2 separate regions of the Homo sapiens genome follow, and region 1 is linked to region 2. Evidence: promoter capture Hi-C in 16 types of primary human blood cells and fetal thymus (Javierre and others, 2016). All regions are on one chromosome and are shown on one strand. The core of a region is centred on a gene start or on the middle of the fragment in contact, and the rest is flanking DNA. Distances in the headings are between cores, read along the strand shown.

Region 1 (6,588 bases), core at 2,757-5,256, 570 kb after region 2:
TTTTCCCCCAGCATTTTACTAGTGTGTACAAAATGATATGGACATTCTTGTATTTAATTACAATGAACATCTACAATTATTTCATTAGTTGGCTGGGCGCAGTGGCTCATGCCTGTAATCCCAGCATTTTGGGAGGCCGAGGTGGGTGGATCACCTGAGGTCAGAAATTCGAGATCAGCCTGGCCAACCTGGTGAAACCCCATCTCTACTAAAAATACAAAAAAATAGCCTAGCTTGGTGGCGGGCACCTGTATTCCCAGCTGCTTGGGAGGCTGAGGCAGGAAAATCACTTGAACCCGATAGGTGGAGGTTGCAGTGAGCCAAGATCGTGCCATTGCACTCCAGCCTGATCAACAAGAATGAGACTCCCTCTCAAAAAAATAAAAAATAAAAATAATTTCATAAGTCTAACCTCAAAAGTCAGTTAACAACAATGTAGAATTCTAGAATTGTGATCAGTGTTGTCATTATTTTTTCTACTAGGTTATTACCATCAGCATTGGATGAGAGTAGCCATTTCTTCAAATACTCATCAACTCTAGTTATTGCCACTGATTAATGTTTGATATGATTAATTTTTGTATTAGCATAATTATGTTGTATTTTAAATATAGATGGTATACACATTATGATGGTACTTAGGTTCACCCAAGAAAAGAATTATAAAAGAAAAACAAAGGGAATACATTTTCTCATTGGAGGCTAGAAGTGTAGTGTACTTTCTTATATCTGCAGTGCTCAAAATTTCAGTTATCTTTTGCTGAGGGTTTGGCTCATTAAAAATACTTTTGCAGCCTTATGAAGATATAATTGATGTATAATAAACTGTACATATTTAACTATAAAATTTGATAAAGTTGTGACATTTGTACAACCCCAAGTTACTATTACCATAGTCAAAATAATAAATTCTTCTATCTCCAAGTTTCCTTTTGCCCTTTGAGATCCATCCCTCATGACATTTCCCACCAATTTCACAGGAAAACATTTATTTTCCTTCTCTCACTATAGATTGTTTTTCAATTTCTAGAATTATATATAAATTTAAGAATATATTTGCACTCTTTTTTAAAATCTGGTTTCTTACACTTGTCACTATTGTTTTAAGACCCATTTAAGTGGATGAATGTCCAATAATTTTTCTCGTTATTGTTAATATTCTACAGTTTGTTTAACTATTCATTGATTAATAGACATTTGGGCTGTTTTCAAGTTTGGCTATTACAAATAAAGTTGCTATTAATATTCTGTATGTGTCTTTCTGTTGATGTATGCTTTCATTTGTTTGGGGCAGATACCTAATGATTTGGATGATATGGTAGGCATGTGTTTAATTTTTATTTTAAATGCCAAAGTATTTTTCTGATTTGTTGTCTCATTTTACTTCCCCAACAGAAGCTGTATCCTTTGTCCCAGCCTCAGCTCTGGGGTCACGTTGATTTGTCACGGCAGCCCCACTGCATGTAAGTCAGAGCTCACACCACATGGGAATGGAGAGCCAAGTAGGAAAGTAAAAACGTCAAGATCAGCTGCAGCCCAGTTAAGAAGGCCTACCAAGTTCCTTTTGTTATTATCATGCTCCAAGCTAGTACTAGGCAACTCTCGAAAGAGTCTCACCTGAGACTTGATAGATCAACCTGGAGTAATAGGCTAGCCCCTGCTCTCAACTTACCTAATTTTGCTTGATGTAACCCTGTCTCCCCTGACCTGCAACAAACAGTGGAAACCTGGAGATGAAAATCCAGGAGGTGCAAGTCTAATGGCTTTTTGCTATCCTCCCTTTAACTCCTTCCTTTCCCCACCTCACCTACAGGCTGGAAAGAAGTGTTCATGGTACTTTACCCTATTCTAAAATAACGAGGTGACTGAAGGCCCTACTGTGTAAGAGGAAGCATTCTCTTCAAGCCCTATCACCAACCCTTTCTGATAGCACCCACTTCAGAGACAACCTATGGTGAGTTTGGTGTGCATGTTTCTGGATAATATTTTGTATTTTAACATAAACATATACATGAATAATACATATTTTATACAAGAATATTTAAAAATTGATATATTTCTAACATATGCAAAGATATAGGTTAGATTTTTTTCTGTTCTTCTAATAGTTACCAATAATAAACAGCCAAATTTAATTAATATACAGTAATAGTAATACATTCTAAAGTAAATCTGCATATACATTTCTTTTCTGAAGAAAGGGATCTTAACAAACTTTAATCTTTTTTGAACTCTCACATTTTGTCCCAAACAAATACATATTTGTCCCAAATATGTACACACATATTTTTTATTTTAGAGTCCTTTAATTAAGTTTATCAATATATTTTATGATCTTTTTCTCACCATTGTCTCAAGAATCCCACTTCTTTTGCCTGGAGTTATTTTTCTTTTTCATTTAATAACTTGTCGATGACAGTCCGTGGGTAGATTGAAGAACAAACACTTAAGACATATGTTAATTTTATTTAAGCTTTTTTTTAGACTTCTGCAAGAGAATACAATATTCTTAGCTATTGTTACAAATAACATAAATCATATTGGAATCTTTATAATACAAAGGAAAAGAAAAATGATAGCTCTTGTAAAAGAAATGCAGCCACACATATGTCTTAAACTCCAGTAATGTGGTTTTAATTTAAATTTCAGTGAAATCTGGAATATTTACAATAAATTTAATTAATGAACCAATGTTACATTAAAAATGAGCCACATATTCTGATTTATACTTTTCTAAATGTTTTATGATGTTAACAAACATAAATTTCACATTTATCTAGTAATAAAAAATAAAATGTTGAGAGTTCCTTTTTTATTGGAAACTTTTTTATTGTAGTAAAATATACATAATGCAAAACTTATTATTTTAATGTGTGTAGTTCAGTGGCATTGAGTACATTAACATCACCACTATCCATTTCCAGAATGTTTTCATCTTCCGCAGCGAGTTCTTATCATGAACATTAAATGTCAAGAAAACGTAGCACAGGAAGCTTGTTACTTTCAATCATGCAGAACACTTTCCATGTCTTAAGATCTGTTTTAACTTGATAAGTGGGAAGACAGAGTTTTGCTTAACACCCTGTGTTGTAAATATTCCCAATGTCTACCTTCTGTTAGTAGTGAAAAGAAATAATTCACAGCATAGTTTCTAGATCAATAGAAATGCTGTAGATCTTAATGATTTACACTGTAGCTTTTCTTTTTATTTAAAAGAGATTATTTGTTTAAAGAAGACTAACTTTGCTGTCACTTTTGTTTTCTTTGTATAGAGAGGTCTTATTTTATTCTGTCTTGATAGTGGTGAGCTGTTTTGATTATTGTATGTGTGTGAAATGCCTTAATAAACACTTTGGACACAGAGCTCAACATTTAAAGACATTTTCCCCTCAACACTTTGAAGATATTATTCCATTGTCTTCGAAGATAAATTGTTGCTGAGATAAACTCTGCTTTTAATATGCTTGTTATTTCTCCATAGAAAATCTGTATATTCACTTTTAAATATTTTCAATATGTTTCATTATTTTTGTATGCTGATTGTAGATTCATTTTTATTAATGTTGCTTAGCACCTAATGGGCTTTGTCAAATTTTCGCCACTTCTTTCTCAATTTTGAAAAATTCTGAGCCATTATCTCTTTGATTATCACCTTCTCATCCTTTCTATTATCCTATTCTTTGAAGTTTATTATATGCTGCTGTTTCTTGATACAACTAATTTCTCTTTCATATGTCCTAATTTTGTTACACTCTGGAAATTTACATGATTTTATGTATTTATTTTAATTGATAATTTAAAATTATATATATTTATGGTATACAGCGTGATGTTTTAAAACATGCATACGTTATAGAATAGCAAAAATCAAGCTATTTAACATACACACCATCTCATACACTTGTTTTTTTGGGATAAAAGCAGTTAAAACCTATCTCAGCAATTTTTAAGTACACAATATATTATTAGCTATAGTGGCCATGTTGCATAGTCGATCTCTTAAACTTATTTTTCCTGTCTAACTGAAATTTTGTATCTTTTGACCAAGACCTCCCTAGTCTCCATCTCCTAACCCCCAAAACCTGGTAACCACCATTCTATTCTCTGCTTCTGTGAGTTTCACCTTTTTAGATTTCACGTATAAGTGAGAGGATGTGGTATTTGTTTCTGTGTCTGGTTTATTTCAATTAGCATAATTTCCTCTAGGTTCATCTATGTTTTCGAGAATAACAGGATTTCCTTCTTTTTTTAGGGTAGAATAGTATTTCATTGTGTGTATATACCGCATTTTCTTTATCCATTCATTTGCTGAAGGACAACAATTAGGTTGATCCCATATCATGGCAATTGAGGATAAGGCTGCAATGAACATGGAAGTGCAGATATCTCTTTGACATACTGATTTCATTTCTTTTGGATACATACCCACTAGTGGGCTTGCTGAATCATCAGGTAGTTCTATTTTTAATTTTTTGAGAAATCTCCATACTGTTTTCCATAATGGCTATGCTAATTTACATTTCTACCAACAATGTATAAGGATTCTCTTCTCTCTGTACCCTCACAAAACAGTTGTTATCTTTTCTCTATTTGAGAATAGCCATTCTAACAGGTGTGACGTGATATCTTATTTTGGTTTTAATTGCATTTCCTTGATGATTAGTGAGGTCGTGCATCTTTCTATATATTTGTTGGCTATTTACATGTCTTCTTTGGAGAAATGTCTACTCACAACCTTTGCGCATTTTTAAGTGTTTTTTTTTTGTTGTTGTTTGTTTGTTTGCTATTCAGTTGTTTGAATTCCTTACACATTTTGGATATTAACCCCTTATTAGAAATATGGTTTATAAATATTGTCCATTTTTTTAAGTTGTCTCTGCATTCTGTTGATTGTTTCCTTGGCAGTGAAAAAGGTTTTTAGTTTGATGTAATTTCATTTTTCTATTTTTGATTTTGTTGCCTGGGCTTTTATGGTCATTGCCAAAAACTCATTGCTTAGACCAATGTCATAAAGCTTTTCCTATGTGTTTTCTTCCAGTTATTTTACAGTTTCAGACCTTAAATTTTAGTCCTTAATTCATTTTCCATTGATTTTTTTAATATGGTATGAGATAAGGGTCTAATTTTCTTTTTCTTCACATCCAGTTTTCCCAATACCACTTTTAAAAATTTTATCTTTTCTCCAATATGTATTTTTAATATCATTATCAAAAGAGAATTGCATAGATTTATTTCTGGAGCCTCTATTCTGTTTCATTGGTCTATATGTCTGGTTTTGTGCCAGTACCTTGCTGTTTTGATTATTACAGCTTGTAACTGATTCTGATATTAGGTAGTGTGATGCCTCCAGCTTGTTCTTTTGCTCAAGATTTCTTCAGGTATTCCTAACCTTTCATGGCTTTGTACACATTTTAGGATTGTTTCTTCCATTTCTGAAAAAATGTCATTGGAATTTTGCTTTGGATCTATAGACTTCTTTGAGTAGTATGGACCTTCTTCCAATCCATGGAAACTGAGTATCTTTCCATTTATTTGTACCTAAATGTATTATCAAATGTACTAATTCTTTATTCAGCTATGTTTAATTTACTACTTATTTATTGATTTTTAAATGTAAAGGATTCTAATTTTCTAACATATTCTTAGCTCTTTTTACATGTTCATCTATTAGTTTACAATCTCTTGGCCATTTTATAGATGCCTTTTGAAAATTTTAAACGAATTCACTTTAAAGTGGCCTCAAATTACTTTAATACTCTGAATGTTTTTTCCATGTATAATTTTTCTACTCAAGGGTATGTTGACCTTTTTCATGGCAATAAACTTTTTTATTTGCTTTGCAGTGTTTGTTGTATAGCTCATTTTGCATTGTTTCCTAGCATGTTCATCCATTCCTGCCAGAACGTTACATGATGGATTCAGACCAGGATCTATGGAGAATACATCTCCAATTATAGTGTACTCCTTCTACTTATTTTTTTAAGTTAACTGTAAAACAGTCTTAAGCAGGTTCAGGAGGTATGCCACAAGAAGGCATTATTATCATAGGAGATGACAGTTCCATGCATGTTGATTGCGCCTGAAGACATTAAAGTGAAAAAAATATAAAGGTAGAAAACTGTGATATTATCTTGACTCTATGTAGGCCTAGGCTAATGTGTGTGTTTGTGTCTACTTTTTTAACAAAAAAGGTTAAAAAGTAAAATAAATAATTTTAAAAATGGAAGAATGCTTAAAGAAAATATTTTTGTACTGCTGTACATTGTGTTTGTGTTTTAAACTATTATTTTGAGAGTCAAAAAATTTAATTAAAATGTTTATACAATAAAAAAGTTACACTAAGCTAACTTATTATTGAAGAAAAAAGTGTTTTAGTAAATTGAGTGGAGACTGTACAATGTTTATAAAGTCTATAGTCATGTATAATAATGTCCTAGGCCTTTACGTTCACTCACCACTCATTCCCTGACTCACCCAGAGCAATTTGGTCCTTTTTGTCATTGGGATATAACGAAACAAATGAATTTGATAAAAAAATTGTTTCACAGAACATATTAAAATTGTAGTTATGAGTTCTGTTTTATTAAA
Region 2 (6,929 bases), core at 2,569-5,068:
TCCCAAAAGGCAATATGTCATTATTAGGGATGAAGAGTGAAGATATTTAAGCAATGAGTCAGAAGTATTGTGAAGTGATGACATAAAAAGATTTGGAGGTGATATATCAAGTTCTTCCCTGAAGTGTATGGAAAGCAATGGTCTTATCACGTCACTAGAGAATGATTACATATCTCATAATAAGTCAGAAACTATCTAGAATGTTAAGTGCTGAAATATTAAACAAAACAATTAACAGAGTGAGTTTCCTATTGTGTTTGGCAAAATCTGATTTTTTTTTTTAAAGATGATCTTCAAAAAATAGAACGACTGGCTGTTTGTCTTAGCCAGTACAAAGTTATGTGGTATTCTTCAACAATTCCTGAGACCCTCTGGCTAGGACTACGTGTACTGTTATGAGTCCTCATATACTATTTCATCAGTTAGGAAGTTGTAAATAAAGAATCATAACAGTGACATGCAGAATTTATTCATAGAACATTATTTTAGCCCTATCTCCATATTTATGGCTGTAGAAAAAGAGCCAAAAATAGAAACACGTGGCTCTTTGTAAATGTAACTTCTCAAAGAGAAAAGTTTATGTGTTATTATTATCTGTGTTTTCACATATATTAGTTAAGTTATTCTTATATTGCATTATGTATATTATATATTTTAAAGGGCATGTGAAACTACATTAAAAAGAAATAAGAAGTTAGGTTTAAAAGTTAAAAATTTATAATTAAATTTTATTTCATATAGTGAAGTATTTCTAATATTAAATGTCTATAATGAATAATGTAGAGACAATAGACATTTTAAATAAAAGTATTTGGCTTAACTCTTGAAAATAAAAATACATTAAAAACTTCAAATATTTTGAAAATTGAATTTTAAAGAGTAACATTGCTAATTAGCTAATTTATGTAGTGGCTTTTTTTCTATTGCCCATGTCTGAAATATCTAGAAATACACAGGGTTTCTCTAGAATATTGTGGTTTTTTTTTTACGATGGTGAAAAGTCACCAAATATTTCACTCCTTTAATTGGCGAAAATTGTTAAAATATGTCAACGAGCATATTTCTGAAAGTAGAAAAACCAAGTTTTTCCTTTTCATGCAAACCTGTCTTCCTAACCTGGCAGCTGAGTCTAATTAACCTCAGCTGGAATTGTTTCACTCATAGCTTAGAATCTAGCACCCACTCTGGCCCCAGCTCAAGGGTCTATAAAGACATTAATTGAAATGAGCTGTTAAGCATCAAACATATGGAAGTGTCCCTATTTTCTTCCAAATTGCTTACTTTCCGTATCCCTTCATGGTTTTGCAGGATCTACTTGGAATTTCCACCCTTTCTCCTATCCCTCCTTCTCACACATGCGTTCTTTCTCCTCTTGGTCAACTCCCAGTCATGCTTCAAAAACACTTTAAAAAATCAGCATTTCTATGAAGCATCTGTGGGCCCACGGACATAAGTAGTTGCTTCCTGTATCTTTTACTGTAGCACTGTTCATCTCCTAGTGTTGACATCTGTTTATGAACCTGCCACCTTTCTTAAACTATAAGCTACTCAGGGGCAGGGGCTGTGTCTTCACATACCTGTAGCCCCAGTGCCAAGCACAGGGGCAGGTCCATAGTACCTGTTCAGTAAATATTTGCTGAATTTATGGATTTTACTACTGCTCCCATTCTGTGTTCGCCTCTGATACCGAAAAGAATTCATGAGTAACTGAATTCTAGCTACTTCTCAAAAGCTTCATAAAACTGCTTTATTTTTCCCACTTCTCTTCCTGCCTTTGTTCCTCCATTCCTCTCTCCATCTTTTTCTCTCTCCCTTCATCCTTCCCTCCTTCCCTTCCTCCTTCCTTTCCTTCTTTCCATTTTTTCAAAATCACTGCCCCAGAACACTGAGTTTCTTTTAGCCATGCCCTAATCCTTAGTGACTGGGCTTTTTATTCTTAAACTCAGTCTTGCTAGGATTGTATCACCAATACCTGTCATCAAACTTCTCTGGCATAGCACCGTCTGCACTTGTGAACTTCTAACGTCTTTATTTTGGAGCATTGACAGTCACATGAGCCATGCCAACCTGAATAGATACATGGAGTCATGAACTCAGTTTAAGAAGTGGGATTCTTGTGTTTCAGCTTTGTACTGACATTCTAATTTCAAACCCATTAGGTAACACAAATCCCATGTACCTTTCTTTCTCTCTTTTTTTTTATTTTTTTATTTTTTATTATTTTTTGTGATGGAGCCTTGCTCTGTCATGAGGCTGGAGTGCAGTGGCATGATCTCAGCTCACTGCAACCTCCACCTCCCGGGTTCAAGCCATTTTCCTGCCTCAGCCTCCCGAGTAGCTGGGACGACAGGTGCATGCCACTATGCCCAGCTAATTTTTGTATTTTTAGTAGAGACGGGGTTTCACCATGTTGGCCAGGCTGGTCTCAAACTCCTGACTTCATGATCTGCCCACCTTGGCCTCCCAAAGTTTTGGGATTATAAGCGTGAGCCATTGTGCCCGGCCTGTACCTTTCTTATAATAACTAATTCCTGGTTTGGCTCTCATGTGTGGGCTCCAAGCCCTCAGTCAGCCCTGCGGTTCTACCTGAACTTTTTGCCCTCTGCTCTCCTTTCTTGGCCTATTCCCTGTAGAACAGAATAGAACAATATCAGAAATCCACAAGGTGCAGACTGATAAACCAGGGTAGGAGTGATTCCACACACTTCCCATTGGTGACAGTGGCAAGATATGAGGATTTTACTGCGGTATGTTTCCTCTATCTTCAAGTGACTGCAAAAAATCAGCAATATAGTTGCTCCAACTAGGGGGCCTGGGATCATTCAGAGAATATTCTGCCTCAAACCTTAGGAGATACATTTGCCTTTAACAAAATATAACTATGTATATTTTCTTTTCTATATTTTATTTTTGAGACAGGGTCTTGCTCTGTCACCCAGGCTGGAGTGCAGTGGCATGATCTTAGCTAACTGTAACCTTGAACTCCAGGACTCAAGGGATCCTCCTGCCTCAGCCTCCCTGGTAGCTGGGTCTACAGGTATGTGCCGCAAGCCCAGCTAATTTTTTATTTTTTGTAGAGATGGAGTGTTGCTATGTTGCCCAAGCTGGTCTTGAACTCTTGACCTCAAGCAATCCTCCTTCCTTGGCCTCCCAAAGCACTGAGAATATTTACTTATTCAAGTCTTAGTTTAAATGTCACCTTCCCGTGTGGCTGATTCTCATCATCCTAATTAAAATTAGGAATTTCCATCATGCACCATTCCCACTATCCTGGCCTATGTTTTCTATAGCACTTGCTGTCTTCCGATATACCATTTACTTCTTCATTATTTTTTCATCCAATGTATGATCTCCTGTTAGAAAATATGCTCCATGGGCAGGATTTTTTCTTTTTCTTTTTGTCTTTCATTCATTGATGTCTCCAAGCACCTAGAATAGTTCCTGCCACAAATAGGCACTCAATACTTATTTGTTTGATGAATGAACAGATGAATGGGCAAATGAAAACAGCACATCAAAAATATTTGGTAGAAATATGTACACATTTCTGACATTCTACAGTCAGAATATTAAAAATAATATTTAGTTTTTTCCAATTTCAGGGTAGTAAAGTGAATGAATGATTTTTTAAAGGTATACTTAAATTTGTTGTTATCTTTCTTCAATGGCCTCATGTTTTAAAATTAAATATGACCGCGTGCAAGCTCAAAATGAGTTCCTGGGATTTTGGAAATTTTCCAGCATTCCAAGGTGCTGATTTATAGTTACCACGTGAACGACCTCATGAATAGACCTTTCATTACACAGTCCTCAGAATAGCAAACTCCCAGCTGCCCCTTCTTACTGGGCCATGACTTAACTCTGGAATGTGTTTTGACTCACTGACTGTAATAGTGACTAAAAGGAACATGTGGGAGTCATCAAAAATCTGCAGGTGGATCTGACTGTAAGAAAGAGAAACACTTAATTGGGTAAGCAGATCAATTAGAGATGATTACTGATACAAAAAATGGATTCTTTATTTTACAAAGGCCATCACCACAGAATTGTTTTAGATGGTGATCCACTGACAATATTTTTCCTAATGAAATGTCTCCTGTATGAACTAAAATAACATTATTTGGGGCATGAAATAAGGTACAGTAGGTAGGGAAGCAAGTCCGGAAGCAGAAGCCGGTGCTGGGAGTCCTGGGTCCACCATCGTGTATCCAGAGACCAGTTATAAAAGCCTGTCCTCTGAGTCTCGTTAGAGGGGACAGTTCAGGCAGAGCAAAACAAATGGTGTCGATGGTGTTAGCTGGAACTACTCTGTGACTAAATGTCTGATTTACTCCGAAGTTTCCAAAGAAGCCCTGTTTTAATAAAGAAATGGTGCTGTTAATTTTAAAGTAGCCTGTTGCACCATTTCATTTAACTTTGTTAATCTTAGGTATTTAGACAAAGGTTTGCTTCTGACCTGAGGGGATTCATATTTCCAAGACAATTAAGCTCTAGAAAAGATGTTATGGAAAAAAGAATGCAAAGCCTCACAGTAGTATTTCTGTTTCTATGATAAAACTATTGCTTTATCAGCACATTGAAAAGGGAACACAGTTGAAATTATATTTTTCTTAATTTTATCACCAGAAAATACTAAAGAGAGGAGATCATCCCTAGTTCTCGAAGACAAGTTTTTAATATGTGAATTATTGCTATTTGCCTTTTATCTATTTTGCCAACATGAACTTTCTCCTTATCCACATACATTTTAATAAAGGTAAATTGGCAGATAGAGGATCACTTAAAATGAATAATTAGCATCTGGATCAACTCTTATGAAAACGGTAGACAGCTCATTGGACGAATGTCAGCTTCCAATATCATGACGATTTACATGAACATTACTTAAAATTCAATGAAATTAGCAATTATGTTGGTCAGTTGCACTAGCTACTTTTTAATTGCATAATAGCTACATGTGGCTAGTGGTTACCATATTGGACCGCACAGATATAGGACACTTCTATTATCATTATCACAGAAGTTTCTATTGGACGTCATTACTCTAAAATGTCTGATTTTAAACAAAAAATAAGATATGTAAATGACAATCACACAAATACATATACATACTACAGTATTTTAGAAACATTAATGACTGGAAGGATCCCCTCACGTAAAGAGCAGTAGAAAACTGAAAGAACAGAAGTCTCAGTTTGTTTTGTAAAACCCGTCAGAGGAGATGAATGGCCATTATAAGAATAAAGAATGAATTTAGTTTTAATGGAGCAGAATAAAAAGAGAAATACAGCAGGTAATTTCCAAGGTTTATTGCAAAAGCCTGGAAAAAGTGACTTTGAATATATATTTTATCTTTTGACATTTTACATGTTGATGACTTAGAAGATTAAAATTAAAATTATGAGTTAGAGAATAAAAGTGAAGGGCAGGCAATTGTCATATTAAAAAACTCCAAGTCATATAAATCTGATGAACATGACCCATTCAATTCTGATATTTGAAGCATTCCTTGATCCAGAGTTTTTCAGCAGGAAGAGTATATTTTTCAATTCTACATACATCTAGATCAAACACCAGTACCTAAGACTTCCAGTATTCACTTTCTAGCTTACTGGTCTTAAAATATCTAAAAGAAATTCAACAAATCATATATATATATATGCATATATATACGTACGTATATATATGCATATATATATATTTTTTGAGACAGAGTCTCGCTCTGTTGGCCAGCCTGGAGTGCAGTGGCGCCATCTCGGCTCACTGAAGCCTCCACCTGCCAGGTTCAAGTGATTCTCCTGCCTCAGCCTCCCGAGTAGCTGAGATTACAGGCACCCACTATCATGCCCAGCTAATTTTTGTATTTTTAGTAGAGATGGGGTTTCACCATGTTGGTCGGGGCTGGTCTCAAACTCCTGACCCTAGGTGATTCGCCCGCCTTGGCCTCCCAAAATGCTGGGATTACAGGCATGAGTCACTGTGCCCAGCCCAACGAATCAGATTTTTATATTAGTATAATACAATTAATCAAATCATTTACACTGATTGATTTGTTTTCTTTCATATCCCATCTATTATCAAATTACCCAAATTTGTCAAATTATGGATTTGCTATGCTTGACATTTAATGACATATGGTCTAAGTCTTCCTAGAATCATTTTAACAACTGTTAGAGTGTATCTCCAAGAAAATGTGAATGGAATGCACCAACATGCACACGGGAGCACTATGGTTTATTTGACACCAATACATAAGTGAGGAAAAGGAGCAAATAAAATAGACGTGGTGAGAGCAATTGTCCACAAACTGGGAACCTGGGAGTGTATCATCAGGCATAAAAAGAGAGGCTGGGGAAAATCATAGCACCTTTCTGTGCTGTTCTGGTTCTGCCATTGAGGATATTGGAGTGGAACCAAACTGACAGGCATTGCTAGTCCTCAGTCCTGGAATGGAGTTATCAATTCACACTGTTTACTAAATTTTAAATATGCAGGATATTAGGTAGCTGCACTTAAATTATCTTTTATAAGTGTAATTTTAAAAATCTACTGTTTTTCATATTACTACAAATAAATACTGCCTCAATATGAAACTCTTGCGGCTAGTTAAGATGTTTAATGTATAAGGCTGTCACAGTCACTCATATAATTGTATAAATTCTGAAATCTTTCAGTTATCACACTTTATTTAGAAACATGTGTTTATCTTTTTGGAATAAAATAAATATTTACAGCAAAACAGCAATATCAAAATGCTCTTGGTTTGTAGGTTTTGTCCAGTTTAACTTGCATGCTGTCCAAGTTAACTAAATTAAGTATTAAAATAGTTCATTCTTGTCCCAACAGAGATAGAAATTTGGGGCCCCATGAAAGAACGAAAAGGATCCCATAATGAAAGAATTTTGTTTCTTTTAAATGTATTGCTACGT

The links. The method cuts DNA at HindIII sites, captures the fragments that hold promoters and counts their contacts. A CHiCAGO score of 5 or more calls a contact.
Region 1: a fragment that was not itself captured here is called in contact with the fragment with the promoter of XIRP2-AS1 in region 2 in 1 of 17 cell types (M2 macrophages); the score reaches 5.1 in M2 macrophages.

Annotation. Positions count from the first base shown.
Region 1 is chr2:166,564,991-166,571,578 of GRCh38, reverse strand. LOC107985958 (a long non-coding RNA gene) reads left to right here. Exons shown (of 4, transcript XR_001739762.1): 3 at 1,396-1,463; 4 at 1,814-2,662. Among named protein-coding and RNA genes, the nearest start is that of SCN7A, 74 kb to the right of the region's middle. The HindIII fragment of the contact is 2,021 bases long and covers 2,996-5,016 here.
Region 2 is chr2:167,137,844-167,144,772 of GRCh38, reverse strand. XIRP2-AS1 (XIRP2 antisense RNA 1) reads left to right here and starts at 3,818. Exons shown (of 2, transcript NR_046665.1): 1 at 3,818-3,971. All of the region lies in intron 3 of XIRP2 (xin actin binding repeat containing 2), which reads right to left. RefSeq lists an enhancer at 3,282-4,481. The HindIII fragment of the contact is 5,412 bases long and covers 1,735-6,929 here.